3 separate regions of the Homo sapiens genome follow, and all the other regions are linked to region 3. The links are contacts of gene promoters, found by promoter capture Hi-C in blood cells and fetal thymus (Javierre and others, 2016). All regions are on one chromosome and are shown on one strand. The core of a region is centred on a gene start or on the middle of the fragment in contact, and the rest is flanking DNA. Distances in the headings are between cores, read along the strand shown. Region 1 has its middle 28 kb from the start of WSCD2. Region 2 overlaps WSCD2 (WSC domain containing 2). Region 3 holds the start of FICD (FIC domain protein adenylyltransferase).

Region 1 (4,057 bases), core at 983-3,482, 410 kb after region 3:
AAATTAGACAATGCACATAAAACTTCCTGAGTTTCCATTTCCCCCTCTATAAAATGAAGATAACACCTACTTTGCAGGGCTTGATGAGAATTAAATAAGCTAATGGGCATAAAATCCTTAGCAAAGTCTCTGGAATGGGGTAAATGCAGCCTTTATTGTTACTAGAGTTGTATTATTTTTATACCATTATCGTCACACATACACTGTATTGGTTAGCCATTGCTGCCTAATAAACCATCCCCAAACTCATTGCTTTAATTATTTTGCTCATTGTCTGTTGGTGAGCTGGTGATTTTTCTGGTCTCAGCTAAACTCACTTAAGTGTCTGAGTACAGCTGGAGGTCAGGTAGGTGGCTTCGTTGTCTTGGTGGGGTTTTCAGTATTTGAGGGTCAACTGGCCATAGGCTGATATAGAATGACCTTGTCTGAAATGACTGAGCTCCCCTCCACAAGCTCTTATCTGCTAGCAGATATCCTGGGGTTGTCCCCATAGTAGCTGGGCAAGATTTCAAAAGAGAAAGTAGAAGTGTTCTAGTCCTCTTGACTCCTGAGAACCCCTAGGAACTCTCTGAGTCACTTCCACTATACTCTATAGGCCAATACAAGTGATAAGGCCAGCTTAGATTCAAGGATTTTTCAGGAACCAGACTCCACTTTTCAATGAGAGGGCTGCAAAAGCACATTGGAAAAAGAGTAAATACAGAGAAGGGCAGCAAATTGCCACCATTTCTGCATCTACCACACATAATTCTGATGTCAGGAGACCTGGAATGCCCCACTCAGAATTTGTCTGATCAGAGTCCCCAGCCAGCAAACATCCAGAAAAGGCTGTGGTCCACTCCAAAGGCCTCCCCGAGCCTCTTTCTTGGCTGTATTTGTACATTTTGATTGGTTCCCCTACTTATCAGCCCAGCAGGAAGAACCTTCCTTGTCACCAGCCCCTGGAGAGTTATTAAAATCCTGCACTATCATCCAGACCTTAATAGGAGATTCCTGAAGGCAGAAACCTGACTTGCCCTAATTTTCCATAATTAACTCATCAAGGCACATGGCATGGCTGCTGCTGTCCTCGGGGGCTCTCTGGCTTTTCCCAGACTGCCCAGTAAGTCCCTGCTCACCACATCGCATGGGGGAAGGGAAGCTACTGTTTATGGAAGACCTATTATGAGGCCAGCTGGGTGGGCTCTTTCTAGGTGTGAACTCATTGCTTTTCTCAACTGCTGAGCCAGGTGGATATTATGATTTCCATGTTATGATGAACTGGCTGAGGCCCAGAGAGGTGAAGTCCCTTGCCTAAGAACACACAGCTGGGAAATTCCTGAACCTAGGTTAGTGGTTATTTGGTTACTTACGGGGCCATACCTGGACAGGTTCCAAAGAAACTGAAGGTGCAAGTCAATACAGTCTCCTTTCTCTGAAAAATAAAAAAAAGAAACAAAAAACAAACAAAAAAAAACTGGCCCCCTGAGGTGATGTGATTCAATCACAAGTGTCTCCCCTAGCGGCTATCACAGTGCTTGGAGCCCCTGCGCTAATCACTCCCTTCACTGGGTATTTCTTTTTCCATCACTGTCACCAAAAATTAGCACCAGGCAAGGAGACCCTGTTAAAATACAAATAGTGTGGAGCTCCAATTAGTTAAAACACAGTTTCCTGAGCTTCCCCTCAGACCTTTTAAAACAGACTCTTTAGGAATGAGGCCCTGGAGTCTGTATTTTAATGTTCTCCTCCATAGGTAATTCTGATGTAAAAGCCAGTGACAACATCCTGCATGGAAAGACACCCACACAGTGTTGCTGTTGTTGTTGATATTAAGTGAATAAAGCAACTTGTCTAAAGCTTGACCCCATATTTGACAAAGAGATCTCAAATAGGCAAAGAAAAAGTCTGTATGAAAAAGAACATACTGACAGTGGAAAATTCCCACTCAGAGAGGGGTGATGGAGCTAGGTCATGATTATCTGTATGGCTTGAGCATTGTGCAAAGAGCACATATTCCCTTGTAATCAGAAAAAGCAGTAAGACTCTTTTAATGCAAATATCCTTGAAAGAGAGAGAGGGCATTGGCAGTTGGGAGGCAACACTGAAGAAAATCTCTGACTGTGGCAGCTAGCCGAGAGCAAAGCCTTACGGGAAAAGGCTTTGGTGTAGGCACCTAGGGGAGAAATGGGAGGAAGTATGAAAATCCCAGCAGGAAGAGGCACCAAAGTCCAGGTCCAGCTGTTTCTATATCCTGTAATCTTAACCTCCATGCTGAACCATTGTGGTAGATTGCAGTGGTGGCCCCAATTCTTCATCTGTCCCTGTGCCTATGTCCTTGCCCATGTGACTGTAATGCTCCTCCTCTCTCAAGTTGGCTCCACCAAGTGACTTGCTTTGGCCAATGAGATTTTAGCAAGCATGACCCAAGATGAGGCTTAAAAAGTGGGTGCCTATACCTCTCCCATGAGACCACACCAGGCTGCCTGTTGGAGGATGAGATACATGTGGAGGAGACTCCAGTCATCACTGTTGACAATGTTTCTTTATCCACCACTGTCACCCAAAATTAGCACCGAGAAGTCCCAGTGTAAAATAGAAATAGCATGGATCTGCAATTAGTTAAAACACAGTTTCCTAAGCTTACCCTCAGACCTTTTAAAATGGACTCTTTAGGAATGAGGCCCTGGAATCTGTATTTTAATATTCTTCATGGGTAATTCTGATGCATAAGCCACTGACAACATAATGCATGGAAGGACAGGCTGATAGCCGACTGCCCCCAGACATGTGAGTGCACCCAGTCAAGATCAGCATAGCTGCTTTGCTGACCACCCAGTAGTCACAAATGATCAATGATCAATAAGTGTTTATTGTTTAATGTCACTGAGGTTGTTTGTTATGCAGCATTTCATAGCAGTAAATAATTGATAAAAGTTTGGACCTGTTCACGCTGACTGCACAGAAGAGGAGCCCTTAATGCTGACCTATGTTTGGTGGAGTCTGATTCTGGCAAAAGGGATGTTCTGGGCAGGACTTGCTGGTGGAGCTGACTCATGGGTGTCACCCCTCAGTCATTATTCTGATTTATTTGGTATCTCCATTGCTCATGAGCTCTCAAGCATGAGTATACTTTTTCCTATCACAGAGTAAATAATGGAGCCCTGTCAATTCCACAGTTCATCAGTCACATGCACATTAGACTCGACTCTGCTGACAAGCGCTTCTGCTCACTCTCCCAAATGAGCAGACACAAGACAGTGACATTCTTTTTTCCCCTTCTCCTAGGTGTTTACATTATAGATCACAAGTACCTCCTTGCCTGGCACTGTCATTTTAACTAACTCCATCAACAACACACATTCAGGTAACTCCAGAACCATGTACCCACACTCAAAGCCTGTAAATAATAGAAATGCTGTATTGAAATTACCAGGATTTCTACTATGTGCTTATATACATTAGGCTATCTAATCCTCACGTGACAGTGCAGTAATACCATTATAGCAACATTTTAAAAGGAACAAAAGATGGTTCTTAAAAAAACTGTAATGCAGGTGAAAGATAAAATCCATGCTATATTAGTATAATGTCCATATGATGTCAAAGAGTTCTCACAAACAGACCAGAAAAATGACAAATGGCCCCACAGAAAATGGGCAAAGAATAGGAATTTATGGAAGAAATCAAAATGGCCAAGAATCAGAGGAAAAGATGCTCCAATTCTCTAGAAGTTAGACAAGTGCAAACTAAAGTAACAATGAAATATTATTCTATACCCATTGAACTGACAAAAATTAAAAAGAGTTCTAACACCTCCTGCTGGTGGAGATGAGGGGAAAGGACGTTCTCCTGAATGGCTGGTAGATGTGGAGACTGTGAGCCAGGAAGTTATCGGCTTGCCCAAGTTAACACATAATAAACGGCAGAGTCATCATTCAAATCTGGATGCAATGAACACCAAAGCTTATGCTATTAACTACTAAATAACTAGAAGGAATGTAGAGATCTATCTAGAGGGTTTTCAAGTTGCATATATATAGCAGCAGAATCTCTCTCCAAATAACATCGTACAGAA
Region 2 (3,992 bases), core at 692-3,191, 280 kb after region 3:
GCAGGAACCTTCTGTCCATGCAACGGTTGTCTGAAAAGGGCGGAGCATGGACAGAGGTCAACACCAGGGGCAGATGGAGCCTGTCTGAAAGGGCCAGGGTATGAGTCACACCCCTGCCACTTCTCAGCCAGGTGATCAAGGGCACAGGACACTTGCGTGGGTCATGGGAAAGCTTCCTTGGGCCTCAGCTTTCCCATCTGTAAAATGAGGGAGATGGTTCCTCCCTCATAGAGTTGAGGTGAGTGTTAAATGGGATAATGATGGAAAGGGATAAGCACAGTGCTTAGCCCATAGTAGGGATCCAATAGAAGTCAGCTAGGAGGGTGAATCTTCTCTCCAGCCCCAGTTTCCCCCCAGCAGAGCAAGTCTTTCCCATTCACCCCTACCCTTTCCTCCAGATCGAAACCGTCAATGGCATCCGTCGTGTATTTTTTGTTATTCTTGTATTTTGCGGGCTCTGAAAAGCCAGAGAATCAGGAATATCCAAATGGTACTCACCACCTCCCAACCCATTTTACAGATGAGAAAACTGAGGGCTAGAGAAAAATAATATCTATGCCTTTTGAGTATAGGATGCAGTCCAGGGTTCTTATCTTGGCCTCCAAGCCCACATGGTTGGCCTTTGCAAACTCACAGGCTCATTCTAATCCACTCCACCACATGCCAGCCACCTGGTCTCTCTGTACTTCCTCTCCTGTGCTTTGCTGTGTCCTGACATAGTGCCTTCATGCATGCTGTTCCCTCTCCATTGCCTCCTACCTGCCTTTGCTTTTTGTTCTTCAGCTCTCAGTTGAATGGGTCCCACTGTCTATCCGTCTGTCCTTCCTTCCTTCCTTCTTCCTTCCCTCTTTCCTTCCTCCCTTCCTGTCTCTCCTCTTTTCCTGACTCCCTGGGCTATCATTAGTGCATTACTATATCCATCTCCTTCATATTGTTGATCACAATTGCAATTCAGATAATTATGCATGCAATTAGTCGTGTGGTCAGAAACCCTGCCCATATTGTGTTTTGCTGATTCACCAAAAGTTTCCACAATATCTGGTATACAGCAGGTACTTAATAACTGCTTCTTGGACGGATGCATGAATGGGTAGAATGGTGACTGGGTGGATAACAATAATATCTATTTTGTAGGGCTCTTGTAAGGATTGAATGAAACAAAGCATGTAATATGCTAATACTCTAAAGTGCTCAAAAGGCATAGATATTATTTTTCTCTAGCCCTCAGTTTCCTCATCTGTAAAATGGGTTGGGATGTGGTGAGTACCATTTGGATATTTTTGATTCTCTGGCTTTTCAGAGCCTGCAGAATGCCATTACCATCAGAGTTAACAGAAAATGCAAGCCCCAGCACCTCCCACTGCAACCCCAGAGGGAGCTAAGAAAGCACAAGCTTTTCTTTTGGTTCCCTCAGTTGCAAAGGCAGCTGAGGGAAGGCTCAGAGCAGGGGGCGCTGGAGCAGAAAGGAAGATGAGAGAATCCCAGATCCAGGCCTGGAGGCCCCAGGTCTCAGTGCTGCCTTCTTCAGCCTGGGGCAGATGAGCTCCACCCTTATTTATCATCCAAGGGAAGGCAGGCAAACCTCCCTCACCTCCCATGGCCCCTCACCTCCATCTCTCCCTCTTCTGGGGAAGCCACCCATCCCCTGCTCATGTATGTGTTCTCCATTCCCTCCTTCTCCAAGCTCTTTGCTCCTTCCAAACCCCAATATTTTTTCTCTCTCAGCTGGCTCAATCACATTAGCACTCAAACAGGAACAAATAGCTCCCTCGTTTAGAAAGAGCCCCTTCCAGCGACCACCAGCTCCCCTTCACCCCATCACCGCCACATTGCCAGCAGAGTTGTCCACATTCCTTCATGTTTCCTCCCTTCTATCTACTCCTTGGCTCTTGCACTTGGCCTCTTCCCTGGTCACTGCCCTGGACCGGTTATGGGCAAGGTCCTCAGTGACTGCCCCATGCTCAATTCAAGAGACAAGCTCACCTCACGTGATTACTCGGGCATGAGGGCAGAGCGCTGCCCTCCTCTAGGTAATTCCTTCCCAAGATTTTACCAGGGTCTTCCCTGTTCTGCATTAGCTGCTATTTATTGAAGTCTTACTGTGAGCCTCATTAATTTCACACAAAAGCCCTTTGAAGGAGAGGTGTGAAGTCCTAGATTTAAATTCCAATTCTTCCACTTACTTTTTGGGTGACATAGGAAAAAAATGATCTGTCGGAGCCTCAGTTTGCTCACTTATAAAATGGGACTATTAAGCAGCGATGACAGCCTGAGGTTGTTTAGGAGAATGAAATTCTTGAATGAATGCAGTGTTAGATTGAGACAAACATGCCGGAATTGCCCACAGAATCGATTGTGGTTCCTGGTATTGTTCCTGCTAGCTGGAGGTTCAGCTTTCTTCTCCTGCCTGTTTAATTTTTGTTCTGAGATGATCAGATTTAGGATAAAATAAACCAGGGGACATCTGTGTCGAAGCCAAGTAAGCTTCAGGGAATGGTTTTCATTGGAATACACTGCAAAAAGGAGCCCAGACACAGGGACTTTATAGAATATGGTTATGTTTTATATTTTGATAGGGGAGTGGATTAGCCAGTTGATATTAACTAGTACACTTAAAATATGTGCATTCCACTCTATGGAAGTGTTACTTCAGAAAGCTAATATTGAATTATATAACCAATGACAACATCCTGAAGTATAATGATGCTTGCAACTTGCTTGGAAATGCACCAAAAATTAGGAAGGATTGAGGGATGGAGAAAAGGAGAGATGGACAATAAAGTAAATACAGCAAAAGTTAATGTATGTCACAAAATTCTATGGAATGAGTATATATGTGTTCACTGCATAATTCTTCCGACTTTTCTGGAGGTTTGACTTTTTTTTTTTTTTTTTCCAGAGCAAAATGTTGGGTTGATAGGTCGGGTGGGGCAGACCAGGCTCCTTAATGTCCCCCCAAAACAGAATTCTCTATTCAAATATTTCCTGGGAGGCCAAGGCCAACCCGAAGGTAAAAGTTGTGGTTTTCAATGCTATAAAGAAAGTTGATTTGGTTCCTAAGCCCCATACATTAAGCAACTGTTGCAGGCAGTATTATATGCAGTTTTGGAATCAGACCGACCTGGGTTTCCATCCAGAACTGTCATGGCCTACCTGTGTGACATGGAACAAGGCTTTCCCCTCACTAAGCCTCAGTTTCCTCACCTATAAAACAGGGCTAATAAACCTTACACAATTATGTGGGATAATGAGTGTGAATTTTTCACAATGTATTTTGAGAAGCTAGGGTTGACAGTGCAGTCTTGGGACCTAGATTGCCTGGGTTTGCATCCCTACACTGCCATGTCAGAGCTGTTTGACTTTGGCCAAGTTACTCAACCTCCCTGTGCCAAGTTACCTCATTTGTAAAATGGTAATAACAGTGCTTATGCAACTGGACTGTTTGGATGATTAGATGATTTAAGGCAGGTAAAAGATTTGACAGAGCCTGGCACAGAGCAAGTGTTCAATAATTATCCCATAAGGGGCATCAGGGCTTAGCACACAGTAGGTGCTCAATAAATGTCAGTCCTGGTGGGCCAGGCTCTTGGCAGGCTGATGAGCCACATAACTGTCAAACCTCCCCAGTGTGTAGAAACTGCAAGAGTGACGTGGCAAAATGGAAGCCCTAGTAATGGCCTGGGGGTAGGGCACTGGGAATGAGCAAATTCATCAATTAGGGAATTGTTATCTGCGTTGAAAAGGCTCCAGTGTCTGTTCTGGCCACCTCAAAGCCATTCATGATCACAGGGTAATTAATCTGTGTATGACTTTCCCCTGCAGGCTAAGGCAGCACAGCTCTGCACAGACTAACCAGCACTTCCCCGAAAGCTAACAAAAACCCATCCTTCCCCATCGGACTGTAAATAGGTCCAAGAGCCACATGCTCACTAGGCTCTCAGAAGGACTTTAGCTACCATAGAAACAGCCACAGTTGATCACCACTGGTACCC
Region 3 (3,834 bases), core at 221-2,720:
TGGTGCCACCTCCTGGGCAGTATGAATGTGAAAACACTGCTGTGGTCCAACAATTAATGAGCACTTGCCATAATCCAGGCCGTGTGCTAAGCACCAAATGCCTCACATGGGTCACCTCCTGCAATCTTCAACGACTTGAGCTGATGTTTTCACCCTTCTCCAGGTGAGGGAACTGAGGTTCAGAGAGGTGAAGTCCCTTGCCGAAAGTCTCGCCGGGAGCAAGTGACAGCCTTAGGACTTGAACTCAGGAACCCCACGGCTCTAAAGTGTCCCCCCTTCCCATATATCCCTGTGGCTTCTGACCACAAACACTGGATTTGTGGACATATGTCAAACATTTGGGACATAAATGACTGACAGACACCCAGGCAGATCAGCCACAGCAGTTCTGACGCCCAATCTTTGATAAGCACAATTGTTGGGTGGCCTCATTTATTGCCCTCACCCTGATATTCAGCCACAGCTCCCACAGTGCCCTTCCCCTCTCTGGCCTTCCATTTCTGGCCTGTCCAGAAGGGACCCCATCAAGAAGATGAGCAGTTCGAGCATCTCGAAAGGAACTCAGGCTGTGGGCCACAGTGCTTGGCCTCAGTGACAACATGGCTTGTATGTGCTTGGGGCTGGCAGTGGGAGTGGAGGTGGGGCCAGGCATGCAAACACTATGCTAACAATAAGCACTTATTAAGCAACTATGGTGTCCTAGGTGCTGAGCAGTGTACTGGCCACGCATTGCCTCGTTTCACCCTCATGCCACCCTATGAAGGAAGAGCTACCGCTAGCTCCATTTTACAGACAAGGGAAACCAAGACACAGAGAGCATAAGTTAAATTCCAGAAGGCCCACAGGAGGTAAACAGAGGCATCCGGAAGGAAACCCCAGGGCCTCTGAACCCGGTCCCCAGGTCTCGATTTCTACCTTATTACTAAGCAGGGCCTGTGCACCTGCTCTGGGCTGGTCCTGACCCGGGAATGACTGATGGATCACGGGGTTCTGAGTCTCATGGGGATCCTGGCCCATTGCCACAGAACATGTGAAATGGCTTGGGGTGCGCTTTAATAGGGGTGCGCCTGGAGTGCTGCGCGGGTCCAGGGGTCTGGGCGGGCTTCCCGAGGGGACAGGCTCCTGGGCGGGGCGGTACAGGAAAGGGGGCAGTTCGCCGGTGCCAGGGGTGTGTGCAGGGAAGGAGTGCGTTCTGGGAGGCGCGAATCTCTCCCCCACACTTCCCTAGAAAGGGAGAACTGAGGCCCGGAGAGGGGAGGGGACCGGTCTGAGTCCCCTCCAAGACTGCAGAGCCTCCCTTCCCGAACCCCGCCCAGGGCTCGCGGCCCCGTCGCACCCTTCCCGGCTTCATCCTCTCGAGCCCCTAGGGCTTTTCCCCTTCTCACCGCGCGCAGCTGTCAGAACCCCAACCGCCTTCCCCGCGCTCCCAGCTCCGGGCCGCCGGCTCCCGGGTCCTCCTTCTCCGCCGGCCTCTGGCCCCGCCCCCGGCGACTTGCCATTGAACCGCCCGCAGCCCTCGTCGCGGCGGATTGGCTTTCCCCACTTGTCCTTCCCTCGCATTTCCGGGTTCCCGCGTCCGCGTCGGCTTCCCCGGGAAAGACGCGCCGTGGGCCACTCCCATTGGTTGTTGCTTGCGTTTGTCTCGTTCACGTAGCAGCCAATAAGCAGCGGGAGGGGCGGGGCCTAGGCCACAGGCAGGAGGAGCAGGTGCTGGAAACCCGATGGGCGTGCGGATTTGGGGCACACTAGGTGGCGGGCCCGGAAACTGGAAGTTCCACGGCGGTCTTTTCCTCGGGTCTCTTCGTCCCGGAGCCGCTGTCGTGTGCCTCATTTTTCCCGGTTGTGAAATGAAGATGCTGATGCTTTTCACCCCTTCACCCGGTTAGCCTGCTTGACTGCGCAGCCCCTGTTCTTAGCCTCCACCCCATGCTGCTGAGTTTGCCGCCTTCTTCTTCTTTACTCTTTTCCTCTCTGTGTCTTTTCCTCCCTGACTTAAACAACTTTTTTTTTTCTTATAAAATACAGGGTCTCGTTGTGTCGCCCAGGCTGGAGTGCGGTGGAGCAATTGCAGCTCACTGCAGCCTCCACCTCCTGGGCTCAAGCAATCCTCCCATCTCAGCCTCCCGAGTAGCTGGGACTACAGGTGCATGCCACCATGCCCGGCGAATTTTCTTTTCTTTTCTTTTCTTTCTTTCTTTCTTTTTTTTTCTCTCTCTCTGTCTTGCTTTCTTTCTTTTTTTTTGAGACGGAATCGCACTCTGTTGCCCAGGCTGGAGGGAAGTGGCACGATCTTGGCCCACTGCAACCTCCGCCTCCCAGGTTGAAGCGATTCTCCTGCCTCAGCCTCCCGAGTAGCTGGGATTACAGGCGCGCATCACCACGCCCGCCTAATTTGTGTATTTTTAGTAGAGATGGGGTTTCACCACGTTGGCCAGGCTGGTCTCGAACTCCTGACCTCAGAAGATTCGCCTGCCTCGGCCTCCCAAAGTGCTGGGATTACAGGCGTGAGCCATCGCGCCCGACCTATTTCTGATTTTTTATTTTCTTTAGAGACCGGGTCTCACTATGTCGCCCGGGCTGGTCTCGAACTCTTGACCTTAAGCTCTCCCTCCATCTCGGCTTCCCAAAGCGCTAAGATTACAGGCGCAAGCCACCCCCTCGGTTCTCCCTGACTTTTTAATTTGTATCCTCTCCAGAAGGACCTGGCTAGTTCTTTTGGCTTCCCAGAGAGAAATTTTTTCCTTGAAGCAGAGAATGGAAACCTCCATCTTAATCCACAAATACTGAAATTAAACATCTAGGGAGGTGCCCCAGAAACGCTAAGCATTTAGAAGTTAGCAGTTCAGATTCTGGGGAGTCAAAGAGACCTGAGCTCAAATTCAGACTTTGCCATTTACTCTCCGTGTCACCTTGGGCACGTTACTCCTAGCCTCACTTTCCCCACTTGTAAAATGGGGACAAACAGCCTACCTTGCTTTTGGCATCCAGTTCAGGATTTGCAGAAGGCTTGATGCTTCAAGATCTGACCTCCTCTGTGACGTGTATTGCTCTTGGAGGCAGGGCTAGGTGGTGGTTGTGGGGTGTCACTGTTGGGAGTCACACAGACCTGGGTTCAAATCCCAGTTCTGCCCCTTGCAAACTGAATCACATTCAGCAAGTGACTTGATCTTGTTGATCATCTGTCTAGGCTTTTCTGTAAACTGTGCACAGTGTGATGATATTACCACTTCACAAGGTTTTATGTGAGGGTGAAATGAGATTCTATACATCTGGCACAGAGCAAACTATCTATCTATCTATCTATCTATCTATCTATCTATCTATCTATCACCTATCTATCTTTTTTGAAATAGGATCTCACTCTGTTGCCCAGGCTGGAGTGCAGTGGCATGATCTTGGCTCACTGCAACCTCCATGTCCTGGGTTTAAGTGATCCTCCCATCTCAGCTTCCCTAGTAGCTGGGACTACAGGCACACACAGGCTAATTGTTTTTTTGTTTGTTTGTTTGTTTTTGAGACAGAGTCTTGCTCTGTCACCCAGGCTGGAGTGCAGTGGTGTGATCTTGGCTCACTGCAATCTCTACCTTCTGGGTTCAAGCGATTCTCCTGCGTCAGCCTCCTGAGTAGCTGGGATTACAGGCATGTGCCACTGCACCCGGCTAATTTTTTTGTATTTTTAATAGACACGGGGTTTCATTCTGTTGGCCAGGCTGGTCTTCAACTCCTGACCTCAAGTGGTCCACCTGCCTTGGCCTCCCAAAGTGCTGGGATTACAGGCTTGAGCCACCGCGCCTGGCCAGAAGATCCATAGTTTTTAAGGAACAAAATCAGGGT

The links. Contacts are between HindIII fragments. The CHiCAGO score rates a contact against its expected background, and 5 or more counts as called.
Region 1: a fragment that was not itself captured here is called in contact with the fragment with the promoter of FICD in region 3 in 4 of 17 cell types (M2 macrophages, M0 macrophages, M1 macrophages and 1 more); the score reaches 8.3 in M2 macrophages.
Region 2: a fragment that was not itself captured here is called in contact with the fragment with the promoter of FICD in region 3 in 2 of 17 cell types (M2 macrophages and M0 macrophages); the score reaches 6.4 in M2 macrophages.

The regions. Positions count from the first base shown.
Region 1 is chr12:108,099,033-108,103,089 of GRCh38, reverse strand. No RefSeq gene overlaps it. Among named protein-coding and RNA genes, the nearest start is that of WSCD2, 28 kb to the left of the region's middle. The HindIII fragment of the contact is 782 bases long and covers 1,842-2,623 here.
Region 2 is chr12:108,228,769-108,232,760 of GRCh38, reverse strand. WSCD2 (WSC domain containing 2) reads right to left here. Exons shown (of 9, transcript NM_014653.4): 7 at 1-30. All of the region lies in intron 2 of LOC124903077 (a long non-coding RNA gene), which reads left to right. Among named protein-coding and RNA genes, the nearest start is that of WSCD2, 100 kb to the right of the region's middle. The HindIII fragment of the contact is 1,091 bases long and covers 1,396-2,486 here.
Region 3 is chr12:108,512,913-108,516,746 of GRCh38, reverse strand. FICD (FIC domain protein adenylyltransferase) reads right to left here and starts at 1,470. Exons shown (of 3, transcript NM_007076.3): 1 at 1,386-1,470. RefSeq lists enhancers at 1-36, 1,939-1,998 and a silencer at 3,495-3,680. The HindIII fragment of the contact is 9,938 bases long and covers 1-3,834 here.